Linked DNA regions of Homo sapiens: all the other regions are linked to region 4. Evidence: promoter capture Hi-C in 16 types of primary human blood cells and fetal thymus (Javierre and others, 2016). All regions are on one chromosome and are shown on one strand. Each heading gives the region's core, a stretch centred on a gene start or on the middle of the fragment in contact. The rest is flanking DNA. Distances are from core to core; before and after follow the strand shown. Region 1 overlaps FRMPD2 (FERM and PDZ domain containing 2). Region 2 has its middle 74 kb from the start of OR13A1. Region 3 holds the start of LOC105378283 (a long non-coding RNA gene). Region 4 holds the start of GPRIN2 (G protein regulated inducer of neurite outgrowth 2). Region 5 overlaps FRMPD2 (FERM and PDZ domain containing 2).

Region 1 (2,700 bases), core at 83-2,582, 1.7 Mb after region 4:
AGAGTAGGTCTGCCTTTTTTTTTTTTTTTTTTTTGAGATGAGTCTTGCTCTGTTGCCCAGGCTGGAGGGCAGTGGCACAATCTTGGCTCACTACAACCTCTGCCTCCTGGGTTCAGGAAATTCTCCTGTCTCCGCCTCCCGAGTAGCTGAGATTACAGGCGAGCGCAACCATACCTGGCAAATTTTTTTTTTTGTATTTTTAATAGAGATGGAGTTTCACCATGTTGGCCAGGCTGGTCCCAAACCCCTGACCTCAGGTAATCTGCCCACCTTGGCCTCCCAAAGTGCTGGGATTACAGGTGTGAGCCACCGTGCCCAGCCAGGTCTGCCTTCTGATGGGGCACAGACTAGTGCAACATCTGGTGGACAGAGTGTAGGGGTGTCCTGGGTGACCACACCCTGCCTCTCATCTCTGGTTATGCCCAGAGACAGCCCATGTGCTGTTAGACACCCATAGCACTGCAGCCACTCTCTTCCTAAATCCTCCCAGCTTTGCATGCCTGGAAATGCTGCAACACCAAGGCAGAAGCAAAGCCTTTCTTTTGACTCTGCCACATGGCATGGGTCCAAGAGTCAGGCCTGCCCTCCCAGTGCAGCTCCAAGGATAGGTGCTATTCTTCTACTCATTCTAATACCTCAGAGTAATCACAGATCAAGCAGCAGCAACCTTGTTCTGTGCTCTCAGAGGTTGATTTAAAAAAGCAGCAGCAGCCAGAACTGTGTTTGTGTGGGAAGCTTCACATACAACTCCCTGTGATTTGACTGCCCCCAAACACTCTCTTACCGTTGCGGAGGTCTTCCAGGAGCTGCTCAGCGGCCAGGAACAGGAGGGACCAGATTTCCTCCTCAGACAGAGCTTCACCCCTGACCTGTAGGGCGCTGGCCAGCGTCACAGAGGACAGGCTCATGCCTACAATAAAGACATGCATGTGACAGGGCCTCTGCAATGTCCAGGAACATGTCCGGGCCCGTACTCGCCACTCTGGTGCAGCCAGGCATGGTCTGGCCACTACTGCACACCGGCACTGTGTTTTCAGCACCTGGGTCCCTGGGGTCAGGCACAGAGCCAAGCACACAGAGGAGTTAAAGAAATGTTAATTGGAGGACTGACCAGGTTGGCTGGTCGGTTCTCAGTGAATGAGTAAACAAACAATAAAACTCCCAAATGAAAGGTTAAATGAATAAATAAATGAACAACCAAATGAAACATGAGAACAGCACCTCCCAGCTGGGTGCGAGCTGTTGCAGAGAGTAACCTACACCTGGGTAGTGTGTGGCCTCCTCTCCTTCTCTCTCTGGAGAAGTTAGCTAACATTTTTGCCTGCAGTACGTGATTCACATCTTTCATCTCTGGCTGCCACATGTAGAGTCAGATTTGGTGCCAGTACCACCCCTTTCTCCAGCACCTGCCTGAAGTGCCAGAGCGACTCACTAGACAGAAGTATAAGCCCCATGTTTCAGAAAGGGGCAGCCTCACAGATAAACTGGAGGAGGCTCAAGAGGGCTAGTCTTCTCTTCCCTCTCTTCTGGTAAGCAGGGCCTTTAGACCAAAGCTGATGTTTAAATGTCTATCTCCCTGACAAAGCTGCCACCCACTAATCTCCAGAGACCCAGGTGCTGAGTGGCACCGGAAGAAGCCAGGCGGGCTTTTCCTAATCCATTTACATCCTCACTGATCTTTCTCTACAGCCAGAGCTCAAGCAGGGCGGGTGTGCAGTGTCGGGCGCTAGATGGGGAGCACATAGAGGCACCCCCATCCCCCATTGACACACTAATCCAAGATCTACTCCCCAGCTGCCCAGCTCCCTGCAGACACCTCTGCTACCAGCCTCCTCCAGCCTCAGGAAGAGAGGCTGGTTTCAGGAGAAAGAGGCTTGGTCTGCTACCTCTCCCTGGGGCAGAAAGGGAGCCGCAGCAGGACCCCCTCAGAAAGCTTGACCTGTGAGCCGTCACTTATCACAAGGAGTCTGTGAAGAAGGGAGTATTGTTTCCATTTACAGACAGGAAATAAGTCCAAGGTAATCAAGTAAAAAGTGATGAATTAGAAGCTGAACTCCAGGCCCTCTCTCTTTTTCTTTTCTATTTCTTTTCTTTTTTCTTTCCTTTCCTTCCTTTTCCTTTCCTTTTCTTTCGTTTTTTTATCTCTCCTCTCTCTTTAGAAACTGTTTGAGACTTATGGACTAGGCATTCCTATTCCACCACATTTTTCTAACTCTCTATAGCCACAGTGAAAGGTTGCTTATTAAAGATAAGAAGGGGGAAGAAGAAGACCATGATTCTTATACAAAAAATCTCTAAATCCCAAAATAAAATATTGAATGGGTGGGGTTTTTTAAATTGCTTTATGACTAGACAAAAATGCATTAAAAGTCTTCTAGGCTGGTGTGGATAGTGAAGACCATTATTTCAGTACAATAATTCAATGGAGGGAGGACAAACTTTTCAACAAATAGTTCTGGATCCATCATGGAAAAAAGCTGAACATGGTCCTAAACCTTGCACCTTATGCAAAAATTACTTCAAAATGAATCATAGATTTAATATAGAACATAAAACTATAAACTTTCATGGAGGAAAATGGGAGAAAATATTTAGGACTCATCACAAACAAGGACTGCCCAATAAAATGAACAGCTGATTTCTCATCAAAAACCATGGAGACCAAAAGGCAGTTGGATGACGTATGGTCTTAACTAGCCA
Region 2 (2,700 bases), core at 173-2,672, 1.3 Mb before region 4:
AGCTCGGCCCTCACTTGGTAGTAACACAGAATCCTCAGTCAGACATTTCTGTTCCTACGGCAGTTCACAAGAATGGAATGCTGAGGCTTCCTGGTCCAGCTGCCAATAAACTATGCCCACAGTCTTCCCACCGAGAGCCAGACGGAGCTACATTTTACAGGCCTAAGCTGTGGTTTCCTTTCTTTGCTTATGGGACAGGAAGTTTCAGATCCATTCTACGGAGTAATGAAGGACAGCGAGGAGGAAGAGTTCTTACTGTCCATGGCTGGAAAGCAAGGCTTTGCTTCCCAGCATCTATCAGGCAAATGGCAAATGTTGACTCTGATCAATAATGGTCCATTCAAGCTGGAGTGAGTTAAGAGTTAGTTGCACTGTGACTCCAACCTAACGGGATTATTCCATCTTTCATCCAGATCCCACTCTCCTCATTCTTTCTGCTTTACACTTCATATAAATATATGGATCTCCGTGGTGGGGGAGGTACGTAGGTCCAAGTTGAGTAACCTGACCGGCACAAAGAATACTGTATTTGTCTCTTCGTTTCCTCCCTGCTACATACATCTTTTGGTTTCCTGTCATGGGAATATTCCTTTAGAAAAGGCATGAGCTTCCTCTGAGTGTTATTTATGAAACTACATGTTAAGGCTATTGATTAATAAAGGATTTAGATGAATTCCAAAGGGGAGAGCTTTCCAGGATGATAAAACTGCATCAAGAATCATGTTGAAGCTAAACCCATAGGCAAAGACCATGTGCCAGAACACCCTTCCTCACCAGGCCGGGCAGAAGGTGACAGCAGCCCTAGAAGCCAAATCAGATGAGGTGGGTTGCAGGTGAGAAAAGATGTTTTGTTGGGAACAAAGGCTGCAGCTACCAAGAAACTAGCAGCTGAACAGAAGCCCACTGGAAAGAATCCTCCCACAGAAGGAAAGAAGCCTGCTGCATACACCAGTACATTTGTTTATGCTACAAAGATCAAATCATCTTGGGAAGCTTATTTTGAATGAAGACCTGATCAAAGAGGCAGTGAGAAAAAAAAATAAAACAAAAAATACGACTCCAGATCAGGTGTAGAGGAACAAGCAAACTTTTTGGAAACCTTACTGAAGCCTCTTGTATGGTGAAACAAAGCCAGTTTAGAGAGCATCGGGATGAGGTTTAGATTTAAATTCCACTCTCAGAGGAATTCAGCATCCTTATCCTTTTGAGTCTCAGGTTCCACCTGAGTTTATTTCCTAAGGATGAATGCATTTTCAACAGAGCTTGCAAAGGTCACAACCGCATGAGCTCTGGGGGGTTTTCTGGCAAAACACAGGTGCTGAGTTCCACACACTGGGTCCGCATCAGATGAGTCTTATTCAGACCGTTTCCTGCCTATGAGCAATGATATTCATGTTCCATCTCACATGCTCAATGCAGGTGATGTGGCAGAAAGAGCACAGAGGGAGCTCACCAGGGGCTCTGGAAGACCCCAAAGGTTCAGGCCCACAAGGGGCATGGCTCTGCCTGCTCCAGGTGCAAGGGGGGCTTCTCTCTCAGTGTGTCCTGGGGTGGGAGTTGGGGGTGAATGGGTGGAGAATGGGCAAACAGCAAAGTCACTTCTGTGTCCAAATGAGAGCTCTGGAGTTGTGGTGGAAAAAGGACAGACCACACTTCCTGCAACAAGGGAGCACTTTTTCAAGGCAACACTTGTCTTTAGAGGATGTTGACGATGCCCCAAACTTACTGTAGCTGTCAGGGAAATTAGGTGAGCTATTTAGTATCATTCAGTTTCATTTTACAGAATCAGCTTGTTGTTCTTAGACTTTCCTCTGATCCTTTTAGGTCTCAACTTACATATTGCCCTCTTAAAGAAGCTTTCTAGTTCCCAGACTGAGTTAGGAACCCCTACCCCTGCTGGACTCAGTTAGTCCTTTCCACATTGTGCTGTAATTGGCTATACCCCATCTGTCCTTTCCACCAGACTAGGAGTCTTCCGAGGGCCCTGAGGTTCCCAATTTCCGGTGTTTGGACTGGTGCTCTGTAAATGTTTAGGGAATGAAAGGGTAATGAATAAATTAATGAAACAAGTAAGAATCATAGAGCATTAGAAGCACTAAAGAAAAGGTGTAAAATCCATCATCATTTAAATGATATTCAAATGCATATTACCTCCAAGAAATCGTTTCTGCATTCAATTGAGTTCTCAATGCCAAACAAATGAAAAAAGAGGGTGTGGTTGTGGGGGGCTGTGAGAGTAATGGTGCAATCCATGTCACTGTCGTAGTTATCTGGCCATCCAGTACTCCTCAGGTTGCCAAATGCCTTGTGATAGTCTCTGTTGCAATCTTAGGAGAAAAATATGCATAATTAATGTATGCATTCCAGCGTTCAGTGCTCTTTCAACTTCGCAGGAATAATTCAAAAAGATCATTATATGTGAACAAACTTTAGAAAAAGGTAATCCAGCTTCTTCGTTTACCTTTGAGATAATTGAGACCCTGAGCAGTGAAGTGAATTTCAAGCAGCACACACACATGCAATGCAGCAGCTCATTCACACAAACACCCCTACAGGAAGCATGACACAGGAGCCTTCTCCTTTAAAGACGAATACTCGAGGATCCTTTGAACTTTTCTGATCACATTGAGGTGAAGTGGCTAGCATTCAGACTCTCTTTTAGACAAGGACACTACCTCCAAGACAGAGTTTTGCGCAAGG
Region 3 (2,814 bases), core at 314-2,813, 1.3 Mb before region 4:
ATAAAACTTCCTGGTAACAGCTAAAATGTTATCAGTAAAGAAATATGGAGGAAGGTGTGGTGGCTCAAGTCTGTAATGCCAGCACGTTGGAAGGCCAAGATGGGAGGACTCCTTGAGCCCAGGAGTTTGAGGCCTAGCCTGGGCAGCATAGCAAGACCCCATCTCTACAAAAAAATAAAACCATTAGCCAGGCGTGGTGGTGTGTACCTACAGTCCCAGCTACTCAGGAGGCTGAGGTGGGAGGATCACTTGAGCCTGGGAGGTTGAGGCCACAGTGAGCTGTGAATGCACCATTGCATTCCAGCCAGGGTGACAGAGCGAGACCCTGTTTTCAGGAAAAAAAAAAAATTACACTTATAATTAATGTAGCCAAGTGAAATATTTTAATACTTGTATATATTAAGCACTGTGTCACTGTGTGTGCACTGCTGAGAACTGAGCCCTAGTGGAGGCTCCGAAGAGCATCCTGGAACCCCGTAGGCTCCGAGGAGTCCCGAGGTCAGGGAGTTTGCAGAGAGCAGCCTTGGGTCAATGTTACAGAAGCCAGAGGAAGTGGACTCTTGACATCTCCAAATTCACTTCCACCCAGCTTCCCAAAAAGCACTATTATTCTTCATTAGCTTCTTCTTTAGGAAAATTTAAGAATGATCTTGCTTTTCAGTACCCAATACTGAAATTTACTTCAGGAAGCAAGTGGCTATCTTTTCTTCCCTAATAAAAGCAATGGCTTCAAAGAGATAATAGAGCTCAACCGAAATAGCTAAGCCATTCTCCCCATTTATAAATATCACATAAAGTCTCCTCTTCAAAAGCTGAAGGGTATAAAGCTCCTCTGCTGAAAGCAGCCTCTCTCTTCTACCCAGTGAGAACGAGTGCTGGAGGGAGGAAAGCCATGGGGGCCAAGGGTCCCGCTATGCCAGGCATCATCTTCCCTATCCCCTTCTCTTTCTCCTCTGTATCAACAGTGCTCCCAATAATGACCATGATCATGGCAGAGCTGGGCAGGGGCAGCAAGGGACACACCTAGATCTTCAGTTCCAGAGGCATCTGTTCTGTTGCTGACAGCGAGGACCCTTACGGAATGCAAGAGACCAACACACACCAAGGCTGAGAAGCTAACTAGTACACAACCTAAGTTTAATGGCACGTATTTTCATAAAGGCTATGAAACGCAAATCAACTACATTTCCTCCCTTTTCCTTCTGCCAAGACGTATTAATGGCATCAACTCCAATCTCTATCCCAGGCAGGTTTTCAAACCGGGAAAAGCATGGCTTCACAGTAAACCTGACTCTGCCATTCTTTCCATGTCTCAATGGCTTTCCATCACCTTTCAGGGTCTCCTGAACATCTCCCTTCTTCTCTCGTCACATCCTGGACGTGATCTCACACACTCATGGGCCTAATCCATCATTCTTTCATTTTTTTTCATTCCTCAAACTATTTTTGAGCATCTACTGTGCTCCAGGCACTATTATAAAAAAAAAAAATGCAAGCATGAACATTGCACTGCTTTTGTCTTCCCAATGTCCCAGTGGAGAAGGGAGACTTCTAGATTAAAAAAAAAAAAAATCATTACAATCCTACGTGACAGAAGTCACAAAACAAGGCACACGTCCAACTTCACAGGGCAGGGAGTGGCTATGTTAGCTTGGTGCAGACAGAGAAGATTTTACACAGGTGGTGATGTCTAAGCTGACTCTTAGAAGTAAAACGATTTCAGGTGAAAAAGACTGAGGGTGAGAGAAAACAGAATTCGTAAAAGCACCAAGATCTGAACAAGTAGGCTCCGGTCCAGAAAGGACAATAAATTCAGAATGGCTGAAATGCCAACTGCATGGAAGGGTAAGGTAGTGTTCAGATTCGGAAAGGCCTTGTGCATCACGCCTAGAAACCTGGAGCATTACAGTCGGTAACGGACAACCTGGAAAAGTGTGGAGAGGGTTTAAACCAAAGCCACGTCAGCCTGAAGGGCGTCCGGGTGCAGGGAGGGGATGGGGCAGGGCAGGGGACTGGGAAGGGTCCAGCCCCGGTCCGGCCACGCAGAGAGAAGCAACCCCAAGTGCGACGCCGCACACACTCACCGCAGAGGGCAGCCCCTAAGAGGGTGGGCGTGCAACCACAGGCTTCGGCAGGACGCACTCCGGCTGCGACAGATGCCCTCGTTCCCTGCTACACCTGCACTAAATAACTAACACGCCCTGTCTCGGCACACCGCGCAGCTGCCAGCTCCACGCCCGAACCTACCCATATTAAGAGAACAGCTCGCTAGGCGTGGCTCCAGGGCCAGGTTCCGCCCTTAAAAGAATATGGAAGAGGCTGGCCAATCACGTACGTTATTCGGCTTCGAGACCCCGCGCCACGCTGAGGTTAATTTATCGCCGTGGCGAACACTCCGCGGTTTGGAACTCTGATTGGGCCGAGCTTGGCGCGTGCGCGCGATGTTTGGCGCGTGTTCAGTTGATGGGTCGAAGCCCAGAGGGCTGTGGGGGAAAGCAGAGAAGTTTATGGCGCGACTGCGCAAGGGAGGGTAATGGCTGAGGGTGGGTGTTGCGAAAGCTGGAAGTAAATTGCCTTCGAATGTTTCGCTTCTGTAACTGCGGCTCCACTCGCCAGAAGTTGCTACCCTGAGTCCCACAATGTGCCTCTGAAGGACCTTGTGGGGCACGCAGCCTCTCGCCCTATGAAGAGCTTCTCCAGACAGGAATTCTGGCGTGGTCTACGTTTCTCCAGCGCCCCGCTGGAAATCTTTTTTGACAGGTTTCTAAGGCTGGCTTTTACCCCTGACCCTTTTGCCCTTAAGCAACAAGAACC
Region 4 (2,714 bases), core at 1-2,500:
AAACCCCCATTGCACAGTGGGGATACAGCACCCTCCAGGAGGTGGTTTAATCCACCCCAGAGTGAACGGGGCCTGATAGGAACACTCAGGGCCAACTCTGGGCAAAGCAGCAGGCAGCATTCCTAAAGGGAGGGTTTGGAGGAGACAAAACCTGCCCTTCACAATGAACGTGCCTTAAGGGCTACATGCCCCGGGTCACAAGCTGTGCCAGGAAAGGGTTCTGGGGTAACTGTGGGGTCAGTGGCCCCATGGATGAGGCTCTGCTCACCAGGAAGAGGCCTAGGCGCCCAACAGCCCCTGAGCTTCCTCCCCTGGGGAGGATTTGCCCACAATCCCTGGGGGGCACCTAGGTGGAGAGGGTGCCCCGGCCTAGAAGCAGCCTAGGCGGCCGGTGTGTCCCTATCTGCACGCTCACAAGCACTCATGCCCCAGCCTGGGACACACAGGCCCGTATGCAGTAACAGCGTCTACCCAGCTGCACTCTGCACGCCAAGCACAGGCCGCCCCTGCTGCGGGGCCAAAGGCCTGAAAGCACCGCACCACGCAGCCTCGCCCAGAATAGCTCCCCTCCCGCCCCTCCTGCACAAAGCCCACCCGGACTTAGGGAGAAGGGGGCTCAATACGGGCCCGAAACGAGGCTACAGACCTTCTCAGGAGCAAAGGCAGCGACTGCAGGCAAATGGGGCTGTGGGCCGGGGTAATGATGCGGGACAGGAGAAGCCAAAGGGCAGCAAGGCTGGGGGCGGGGTAGGCGGCGCAGTAGGCTGAGGGAGGGGAAAAGGAAGAAGGGGAGAGGGAGGAGCGATGGCAGCAGGGGTGGAGGCCGAAGGAGACAGGGTCCCGGACAGACTTGTGAAAATGGGAGGATGGGCAGAGGAGACGTAGAAGAGGGGACAGGACAGGACAATGAGAGGCGGAGCGCGGGGAGTGCGATGCGGCCACCGGGGGCTCTGGGCGCTGGGCAGGGGCCAGGATGCCGGGGGTCTGAGCGCAGGCAGCGGGAAGGAGTGGGTTCTGAGGCTCAGCAAGGGGGAGGTGCCGCCCACCACGCCCCCCGCCCCAACGGGAGCGCGCGGAGCCAGCCTCTCACCCTCTCGCCCGCCGGGGCCGCGCAGGCGGGGGAAGCGCTGCTCCTGCGGCCGCCACAGGTGCCAGGTGCCGCGGCCCAAGATGGAGCCAGAGCCGACCTGGCCTGGGCGCGAGACGCCGCCCGCCGCCGTCGGCCCGGCCCGCGGAGCAAGCGCCGGGTACAGGGAGGGGCCAGCGGGGCAGCTGGCACCGGGGCGGCGGGAGGGGCGGCGGGCGGAGACCTCGCTCACCTGGGCCCGTGCCACTCTGGAGCCTGCCACCGCCCCGCCGCGGCCCGGGATCTGCGTCCGCGCGCCCCCACCCCTCCTTCCCGACCCCTCCTCAGGCCGGGTCCCCACTGTCCTCGGTCTTTTCGGCCCCGCCCGCACCACGACCGCCTGTTCTCCAGGCTGCCCAGCGAACCCCCAAGACTCCCACTTCCCCGACGCAACCCCACCGTCCCGGGTGTATAGGCGCAGCTCCCCACGATTCTCCGGCCCCAGACCCAGCCCCTCAAGTCCACCTCCTCGTAGCCCCACCCCCTCGCTCCAGTGCCCCTCGCTCCAGTTCCCCCTCCGCACCACGCCCCGCATTGAGGTCTCCGCGCCGGCGGCTACCCCTTTCCTCTCGCCTTCTCCATCCTAGCTCCGCCTCTCACAATTCTCTGGCTCCAGATCCCGCCCACGAGACCCCGTTTCCTATAGGGCCCTTTCGTCTGGGATACCAGGCCTGGTCTCCACTAGCCTCGGACTTTCCAGCCCCAGGTCCCAAATCCTGGACCCACCGTCCCATCCTCTGAGCTCCACTCTCATGGACCCCAAACCTCACTCCAGTCCTTTGAACTCCATGATCCTGGCCTGGCCTGGCCCCCGGAGCCCTCCATTGCCCCTCAAGAGCCCAGCCTGGTAGACTCCTTCCCTAGGGTTGCATCTCCAGCCCCGCCCCTGAAGACTGGTAATCTACCACCCCTTTCCCTGCCCACGTGCCCCTACCCAGCCCGACTTGAGGCCTTCAGTCTCCCAGCCGCGGACCCCAACAGCGGGCGAGGGCAGTGACCGTGCGGGGATGAGCCACCTCCACTGGAGCCCGCCTTCTTCTCCGCAATTCCCCGCAGCACCACAGCGCCTTCCCGGTCCCGTGACGCCGGGGGCCAGCCCAGGCCCTGGGATCGCCAGGTTCCACACTATGAGGCTGAGGACCTGGGCCTACGGTTCCCTCAATATCCCCCAGTTTCCACAACCGCTGGCCAGCTTCAGGGCGCAGGACAGGCAGCCCCGGCCTCCCGCCACTCGCAATAGATTCCTGCTGTCCACCCAGGGCCACGTGGTATGAGGCACCTGTACTATCTCTGGGCCCCAGTATCACATAATTGGGTCCCAATGTTGGCACTTCTCCGTTGTCCCCTGTGCCGGGACCCCCAACTTGTTGGCCCAGCCCTGTGCTGAGAGGCCTGCGTTCCTCCCTTCCAGTGCCCAGGAGCCAACAGTATCTCTAATTCTCCCCGTTTGGGTAGCAAAGGACCTCAGTCTGCCCAGAGAGACTCAGACTGCCCCAGGTAGCCCTCTCCAGCGAGGTCTGAGAGCAGCTCTCAGATTCTGGCAGATGGCTGCCTTTGGCCAAATGCCCACAGGGGTGTCGACGTCAGA
Region 5 (2,700 bases), core at 128-2,627, 1.7 Mb after region 4:
TTCTGTCTTGGATTTGAGCACCCTCATTTTGGCTTGCTTTGACTTGATTCGAGATCTGGTTTTATAGGTCTGAAGGACATGGTCCTTCTTCTGAGTATTCTTTTGGTTTCACTTTTGTAGGGGATTTGGCATCCTTTCTGATGTGTACTCTTTTGGGGTTGGTTGTTTGTGTACAGAATTTAAATTGGCATCACATAGACTTTCCAAACATAATTCACCCCATGAATTTTTAAGCTTATGGACAAATTATACCAAAGATAATTTAGAGCTCCAATGGCCAGATGGAGACCATTTGAACTGCCCAAGCTTGTTTTTTCCTTAGAATTAAAATTAGAAGACTGCAGCTATAAGGTCAGTTTGAATGGGGCACATATTTCAATTGGCATCTTGAGGCTTCAAAACGCATTCAGGACTCAAAAATGCCTTAATGCAAATATCTCAAAGCTAGCTGAGACTCATTTGTCTCCAGAACCTTCCCTCCCCTATCTACAATTCCTCCTCCTCTTTGTCTTCCTCTAGCCGAACTCCTCTTTTTTCCAAACTGCTCAGCTACTAATCTAATTCTTCTCTCCATGACCACCAAGTCATTTTTTAATATGTGAATCTTCTAGGGAAGTTCTAGATGGGTGGAATAAAGAAGTTAAAATATGCCATTTGGGCCTATCAGCTATTTAAGTTAAAGGCACTTTTAAGCGCACTTTTAAGAGCAGGTGCAAATTGGCCACTTTGACCCTTGTGTTATTTCTTAAAGAAGATGAAATTCCCATGTGATAGTCATCCTCCCTCTCCTGGAAGGAAAGGCAACATCCTTATCTTCAAGGACAAGAAGTTTAGACACAGAATACCATACAGACCTTGTTGGAATAACTCTGATCTTTTAAGCCTCCTCATAATTTAGTCCCATTTTCACAATTAACTGTTTTTTGTCCAACCCAGTAACTAATTTGGTGGAGTCTTCATCTTCTTATGGGGGCTCCCATGCCACATAAAACATTTATTATGCTTTTCTCCTGTTGATCTTTCTTATGTTAGTTTATTTCTCAGACACAGCTGGAGCCTGTGAGGATAAAGGATGGAAGTAGAAGTTTTCCTTCCTTACAGTTTCTGGCAATGAGGATGGGACCCTAAGAGGCTGGACACCCCACTCACTCCAGCCTATGGATGAGATGCTGAGAGGCCTGACAAAAGCCTGCAAAAGGTGGGGGGATTCTTTCCAAAGCCAGCTTTCCCAAATATCTATGGATAGTGCCTAGCTAAGAGAAGAAGGTAAAAATTTTTTCTTGTCCCTTCTTTTCTAAATTTGAATTGGCAGGAGAAAAACATTTGTAAGGTTGTTCTCTGAATTGTGACTCTTGTGAATTTGGTTCTAGGTTCTAACAGAAATCGCTCTTTTTTTTTGTTTTTTAATCTCTGTCTTCTGTGTGATTTACCACAAGGATAAAAGTTACAATAAGACTCTCCTTTCATCTTGTTTTATGTCTCAAGAGCTCTGTAGCCAGTGAGGATATCTTCTCTGGTCTCCACCAGCTGGGTGGTGGAGACTGTCAGGTTTGCATCAGATGGCGAGCCAGCTGGCTAGGAGTCTGAAACATGAAGCATCTCCTTGTCCCAGAGTGCCAGCTCCCAGGGGAATTTGTCTCAATTGTTTCAACCTCCACTACCTTGTTAACAAGTAAGGTCTTTGTTTTTCGTCTTTGGGAGAGATGTTGGATCTCGAGGGGGGTACTGCATTTTTCACGCTCTTTTTGTGGAAGCCTCTCGTATCCATGGTTAAGACATAAAAGGCTTATTGGCTTTGAGTCACAATTGAAGTGGTTATACCTTTGGATATTTGGACTTTTGTATCTAAAAGTATTTTTAGAGAGCCCTCATCATGAACAACTGTCCTATTGGTACATGCGAGAAGATTTGGCTTGAAGGAAGAAAATAAACACTTTTATAAATTAACTGTTTTCTCAGAAAAACAGAACTAACCTAAATGTTTTTTGAGTTCAGGTGATCTGGTATAATTTTTGGTAAATATAGAAGCTAGTTTAAGTTTTTTGGTTCAATTAAAATAGTCATGTTTGGAGACTTGTCAACATTAAACATAATACAGACATACGACTTCTTCTATCTGGATTTATCAAGCAAAAGCGTATGTATGTTTAAGATGGTAAAATTGTAAATGTAACCTAAGAATAAAACATACAGTAAAAATAAATTGCTTGATGTGAGACAAATGTGACAATGAAAAAAGAGAGTTAAAAAAAGCCATATGTTTTAACTTTTAGGTTCTTTGCTTCTGTGGTATTTTTTAATACTTGCCTGATTTACTAACAATAAAAATAACGTAAGATAATGACTACATTTGTTTCATGTCTTATGGAGTTTTTATAAACAATTCAAACATAATTGTTAAAACCAAGTGAATTAATAAATGTAAATATAAATGAAATAGAGTATAAGTAAGCTTTTCAACAATGATTATGTTTTATAAGATATATCTACTTAAAATGGTTTATAAAATCTTTTTGGTTACTTAAAACATTACAGTTATAGTAAGTTAAATGAAATGATGAATATTCATTTAATAGACCACTTCCAAATAAGATATTATGCTGAAATATTAGTTGTTGAACATAAGTTTAAGCTTATATACTTTTGTCTCCTCATTGTAGAGGAACAAAAGATATTTGGGTCTGTTAATTAAAATGCTCT

What was found. Contacts are between HindIII fragments. The CHiCAGO score rates a contact against its expected background, and 5 or more counts as called.
Region 1: a contact is called between a fragment that was not itself captured here and the fragment with the promoter of GPRIN2 in region 4, in 1 of 17 cell types (erythroblasts). The highest score is 6.1, in erythroblasts.
Region 2: a contact is called between a fragment that was not itself captured here and the fragment with the promoter of GPRIN2 in region 4, in 1 of 17 cell types (total B cells). The highest score is 6.8, in total B cells.
Region 3: a fragment that was not itself captured here is called in contact with the fragment with the promoter of GPRIN2 in region 4 in 1 of 17 cell types (total B cells); the score reaches 6.8 in total B cells.
Region 5: a fragment that was not itself captured here is called in contact with the fragment with the promoter of GPRIN2 in region 4 in 1 of 17 cell types (erythroblasts); the score reaches 13.6 in erythroblasts.

What each region holds. Positions count from the first base shown.
Region 1 is chr10:48,250,782-48,253,481 of GRCh38, forward strand. It overlaps FRMPD2 (FERM and PDZ domain containing 2), which reads right to left. Exons shown (of 29, transcript NM_001018071.4): 2 at 785-910. Among named protein-coding and RNA genes, the nearest start is that of FRMPD2, 23 kb to the right of the region's middle. The HindIII fragment of the contact is 1,198 bases long and covers 734-1,931 here.
Region 2 is chr10:45,239,782-45,242,481 of GRCh38, forward strand. It overlaps the pseudogene CUBNP2. Among named protein-coding and RNA genes, the nearest start is that of OR13A1, 74 kb to the right of the region's middle. The HindIII fragment of the contact is 863 bases long and covers 992-1,854 here.
Region 3 is chr10:45,222,235-45,225,048 of GRCh38, forward strand. It overlaps LOC105378283 (a long non-coding RNA gene), which reads right to left and starts at 2,276. Exons shown (of 6, transcript XR_001747443.2): 1 at 2,085-2,276. The HindIII fragment of the contact is 3,272 bases long and covers 1-2,814 here.
Region 4 is chr10:46,555,408-46,558,121 of GRCh38, forward strand. GPRIN2 (G protein regulated inducer of neurite outgrowth 2) reads right to left here and starts at 1,251. Exons shown (of 3, transcript NM_001385282.1): 1 at 1,091-1,251. RefSeq lists enhancers at 582-1,287, 1,993-2,698. The HindIII fragment of the contact is 15,777 bases long and covers 1-2,714 here.
Region 5 is chr10:48,225,837-48,228,536 of GRCh38, forward strand. The region is part of intron 10 of FRMPD2 (FERM and PDZ domain containing 2); the gene reads right to left. Among named protein-coding and RNA genes, the nearest start is that of FRMPD2, 48 kb to the right of the region's middle. The HindIII fragment of the contact is 2,146 bases long and covers 305-2,450 here.